Regions from separate parts of the Homo sapiens genome. Here region 1 is linked to region 2. Evidence: promoter capture Hi-C in 16 types of primary human blood cells and fetal thymus (Javierre and others, 2016). All regions are on one chromosome and are shown on one strand. The core of a region is centred on a gene start or on the middle of the fragment in contact, and the rest is flanking DNA. Distances in the headings are between cores, read along the strand shown.

Region 1 (2,700 bases), core at 54-2,553, 860 kb before region 2:
AGAAAGGCTAAAGTAACATTGATCACAAAAAATAAAATTCCCCAAACCAATAGATTATTAGTTTATACAGTGAAGATACTTTGGCTCTTTAGGGACATTTTTACTTGGAGTCACGAGAACAGAGAATATGACTTTTAGTCACACGGAAATGAGCCTTGGATGGGAATTTTTAAGATTTATGGGAACTGTGTGCTATGCTGATTTGGGACAATAAGCGTTCTAGTCCCACCAGGTGGCGCCCGCGTTCGGCATTCTGAGAACGTTTGGTGTCTTCTGGACTCCAGAATCTGGACGGTCCGACCGCCTCGTGCTTGGTGGGTTTACAAACTCTGACTGGTTCTTACCACCCATCTAACAGGAAATTTTTTTTTTTTAAAAACAAACCAACCCATAAAACATCTGACCAGATGCCACACTCAAGAAAACACTTGTATTCGGGTGTTTTAACCTCCAACGATGGAAATCTGCTTAACATTGGTGTTTCTGAGGTGTCTTAGCATCAGAAAAGGAAAAAGACACATATACACACATTCTAAGGAAAAAGTCAGGAAGGGCCTTGCAGAGGTAGGTCCTGGTGCGGCAAGAGGACGGTTAGGCGTTAGAAGCTTCTAGTTCAGGCTTTGCCGCTTCATGCTCATGAGGAAGCGCGGCTCCTTTGGCCTCAGTTTCCTGCGCTGCCTTCCCGTCTGTGGCTGACTGTTGCAGGGTAGTCAGACAAAGGCCCAGCTTCTATTCTGCATCCCAGCTAAGTCTGTAAAAGACGAAAGTCGTCGGGTACCTCCGTTACTGAGATCAAATGTTCATAAATGGAAGCATCGTGTCAATAAATGGGTTTATTATTATTGCTTTCTTATGTAACTCACCAACCCCCGGAGGGCCGTCCCCGCGGTGGGAAAGCCTAAAACAATACACATATGTTTTCACTAATTTAAAATTCATATTGAAGCGGGACGTTTTAGAACTTCCAGGACGCAACGTGCTATTAAGGGACCGTGAGGGGCGGGCAGCCCTTCTGAGATCGCGGGCTAACTGCTACTTTCACCCCTCCTTCTCCGGACCCCTCTCTCCGTCTACAGCTCGCGCCAGGGACCCAAACAGCCTAGGCCGCGAGCTCCTCGCCTCCAACCTCCCGCCTCCCGCGCCAGTACTAGCACCCGCTAGGAGCGCCGCGTGGCCTTTACCGGCCACGGGCCCCGCCCCTGTGCGTCAGCCCGTAGCTGCGCCGAGGCGTTTCCCGGGGGCGTGCCGCGGTTGCTAGGCGACCAGACCGCTCCCCCTCCCGCCCCTGGAGCTGCGTCTCCCCACTTCCCAGCCGGGGCCAGTCGGGAGCGAAAGTGCGCTGAGCTGCAGTGTCTGGTCGAGAGTACCCGTGGGAGCGTCGCGCCGCGGAGGCAGCCGTCCCGGCGTAGGTGGCGTGGCCGACCGGACCCCCAACTGGCGCCTCTCCCCGCGCGGGGTCCCGAGCTAGGAGATGGGAGGCACAGCTCGTGGGCCTGGGCGGAAGGATGCGGGGCCGCCTGGGGCCGGGCTCCCGCCCCAGCAGCGGAGGTAACGGCGCCACGGGGTAACGGGCTGGAGGCGCCACAGGGAGCGGCTGGCGCTGGCAAGCGAAGCTTGGGGGTGGGGAGGAGGTAGAGTGAGCCCTCAGTAGGAGGGACGAGGGCAGGGGTCTGACTGCCTCCCCGGGACCGCCCCCACCTCCTCTCTATCAGGGCCCCCTCCCCCCATCCCTGTCTCACCGGGCGCGGGGGACGGGGCTAGAGCGGAGTTAGAGCAAGAAGAATTTCCACCCCTGGATTCCCTCTGAAACCCTAGATCGGGGTATATGTTAAGGGATTACGAAAATCTAGGACTTTTTGTGGGGCTTTTTATTAAAGGGGGGGAGCCCGGGAGCAATACCTTGGAAAGAAGCCCTGTTGCTTAGAGCGGATAACCAACGGCTGAACTCTTGGGGTTTGCTGTGAGGGGTGCGGTCTAGCTTCGAATGTACAGGTTATGGGCTATGCTGGGTACGGCTTTCTCCGGATCCTATTTTGAGAGATTCCCCACCTTGCGTTGTATTTTACACCTAAATGGAGAGAAGAGACCCTTGCTCCCCGCTTTATTTGCATGCAGACTCTTGTTAATTTCCTCTGGCTGTTAGTCACTAGGCAATTTTGCACGTTTTCTTTTTCTTTATATATGTGGACGCCTATCCTGGTTTGTTTTATCAGGCTTATGGCAAAGGGTCAGTCACATCCAGAATATTTGGTTTCTGTTGGTGAAGCCATTCCCTGTTAAAAATATAAATAATTCTATCAGAATGTGAGCATGTTTTTAAAAAGAGCATTCCAAAAATATTTGTAGCGGTTTTTTTCCCTTTATATTTTTATAACACATCTATAAAGAAAACTCTAGAATGAATTTCACAAAACAGTTTTTAAGGTGACCAGAATATTCCAGGATATTTTAAAAGACGTTAAAAAATTATTCCTCTGCAACATCATCATTGTTATATTCATAGTGTATCATGTAAAATGATACAATGAAATGCTGATGTGTGTAACTGGGAAATCCGTGTTCTTGGTAGCAGATGAAATACATTATTCAGGGCCATCTTGTGGATTAAATAAATCCTCTCCGTCTTTTGTGTTCCCTTACAGTGGTGGAGCCACAGTGTTAAAGAACAGAGAAGTGATCCTTAATCATTTAGAATTTTGC
Region 2 (2,700 bases), core at 61-2,560:
CAAGACCAGCCTGGCCAACATAGTGAAACCCTGTCTCTACAAAAACACAAAAATTACCAGGGCATGATGGTGGGTGCCTGTAGTCCCAGCTACTCGGGAGGCTGAGGCATGAGAATCGCTTGAACCTGGGAGGCGGAGGTTGCAGTGAGTCGAGATCGTGCCATTGCACTCCAGCCTGGGTGACAGAGCGCAACTCCAAATCAAAAAAAAAAAAAAAAGAAACAAACAAACAAAACAAAAAACAATAAAGGGCAGGAAAAGAATGGAAGACAAAAAATAGAAACAGAGAACAAGAGAAAAAAAGCAACAAATAAAAACCAGTAACAAAACTAAAGCAACTATATCAACAATCATTTTGAGTGTCAATGATCGAAATGCACCATTTGAAACAGATCATCAGAGTGGATCAAGAAACAAGACCCAACTATATACTGTGTACAACAAGACCGTTTTAAATATAGACAATATATATGAAAAGTAAATGGATAAAGATATACCATGCTAATGCTAGTCACAGAAAGCAGGAATAGCTGTGTTAATTTCAAACACAGCAGACTTCAGACCAAGAAAAATTATTAGGGATAAAGAGGGGCATCATATAATGATAAAGGGGCCAATTATCCAAGAAGACGTAACAATATCCCATATGTATGCACCTGATGGAGAGACAAAATACGTGAGGCAAAACCCATAGAACTGCAAGGAGAAATAGATGGATTTACTATCATAGTTGGAGACTTCTATGATATCTTTCTGATATCAGAAAAGGTGCTGAAGTCTCCTTATCAGAAATGGGCAGATTCAGCAGGCAGAAAATCCGTAAGGACATACTTGAATTCAACAGCACCATCAATCCACTTGGGTATAATTGACATATATAGATGACTTCATCCACAACAGCAGAGCACATATTCTCCCGCTTACATTCATGGGGATAGACCACATTCTGAGCCATAAAATAGTACACGAATTAAGCTTTACCAGGCAGTGTTTAATATAGGGTGGACTCTGGCGCCCTCACGTGGTCCTCATATAGGATCTGGTTTGGTTATCCCTGCTAGGTAAAGGTGCAAGATAGAAGGGAAGTTCCAATTTGCTTTCTGTGCTTTGTGGTGTATTTTGGTTTACATATGCTCAGATGAGTGGATGTGTGATTTATATTATCTATTTTAATCTAAAATAAGCTTCACATTTGGACAGGTAACATCAAAAGTGTCCTACACAGAAATGCTGGGTGAAGATCCCAGTAATAAAACCAACTCCAGAAAACAAGAAAATGGTAGAGTTGACAATCCCTCTCACCCTCTCCGCAAAGACACATGTATACACATTTTTTGTCAGAGGCATTAAGTAGAAGAAATGCTGTCAGTCTAATCACAACTGATCACAACTCGATGAAACCAAAAAACCTAGAAAGTATCATGAAGACTGTCGAAATAAGCTTTACATTCACTATTGTGAACAGAGAGACTCAATGTGACTGTTTTTTGTCCCGTTAGATGTTAGCTAATGATTGTGCTAAGTCATGATGATTAACAAAGCATTTAAAATATTTATTTTATCTGTGTTACATTTCAAAAATTTATATTGAGGCATATAATTTATGTTCGTGTACATATATAATTTATAAATTTATATATTTGAAAGGGCATGCTCTTTTTTTAAACTGATAGAGGTGCCTAAGCAAAGCAAGTGCAAATCTATTCCTTAAAGGGTAAGTATGCAGAATGGAAAGCAGAGTGTTCTTTGGGTTGACAGCTCATATTGCAACAGACATGAAAGTGATGATGTGTTAATTGTGCATATAGCACAGAATACATCAACTTGCTTTGAATGGAATATCTGAACCAGGAGAATGTGAAAGTGGGCTGAGTCATACAAGACAAAACCCGAAATGAGATAACAATACATACCCACTAGAATGACTAAAATGAAAAAGATTGACCGAGCCAAGTGTTGGCGATAAGGTGGAGTAACTGGAATTATAATATACTGCTATTTGGCAGGTAAAATTATAACATTAACTTTAGAAAATAGTTCAACAGATTCTTAAAACCTTAGACACACACTCAACATTTTACTCTTAGGTTTTTACCCAAGAGAAATGAAATCATATGTCCACACAAAGACTTGTACATGAATTTTCATAGCAGTTTTGTTTGTAATAGCCAACACGTGGAAACAATCCAAATGTCCCTCAACAAGTAAATGGATAAACTAAATTAAGATATATTTATGCAATTGAATATTACCCAGCAACTAAAGGAAACAATTTGTATACATGCAGCAACCTAGATGGATCTCTAATTATGCTGTGTGAAGGCTAAACCATAAAAAAAAACCTGAGTGATTTCCTTTATACAATAGGATATAAATGAAGTGATTTAGGTTATATGAAATTTTAGAAAGTCAAATCAATCTGTAGTAAGAGAAAACCACCTGAGTTATTTCCTTTATATGATAGGATATAAACGAAGTGATTCGGGTTATATGAAATTTTAGAAAGTCAGATCAATCTGTAGTAAGAGAAAACACATTGAAGGTTGCCTAGAGAAGGAAGTGGATGTTTGGATGGATTACAGAAGGGCATGAGGGAACTCTGTGTGGGTGGGATGTATGATGGAAACGTTTATTGTCTTCATTTTGGTGATGGTTTCACAACGCATACATATGTTATAAGTAATCGAATTGTACACTTCA

What was found. The method cuts DNA at HindIII sites, captures the fragments that hold promoters and counts their contacts. A CHiCAGO score of 5 or more calls a contact.
Region 1: the fragment with the promoter of DYRK3 here is called in contact with a fragment that was not itself captured in region 2 in 1 of 17 cell types (endothelial precursors); the score reaches 5.2 in endothelial precursors.

Annotation. Positions count from the first base shown.
Region 1 is chr1:206,634,233-206,636,932 of GRCh38, forward strand. It overlaps DYRK3 (dual specificity tyrosine phosphorylation regulated kinase 3), which reads left to right and starts at 1,304. Exons shown (of 3, transcript NM_003582.4): 1 at 1,304-1,548. The coding sequence starts at 1,472. It overlaps DYRK3-AS1 (DYRK3 antisense RNA 1), which reads right to left and starts at 1,436. Exons shown (of 2, transcript NR_183645.1): 1 at 1,368-1,436; 2 at 1-751. RefSeq lists silencers at 1,164-1,583, 1,634-1,743. The HindIII fragment of the contact is 1,008 bases long and covers 604-1,611 here.
Region 2 is chr1:207,498,676-207,501,375 of GRCh38, forward strand. All of the region lies in intron 1 of CR1 (complement C3b/C4b receptor 1 (Knops blood group)), which reads left to right. Among named protein-coding and RNA genes, the nearest start is that of CR1, 3.9 kb to the left of the region's middle. RefSeq lists an enhancer at 885-944. The HindIII fragment of the contact is 257 bases long and covers 1,183-1,439 here.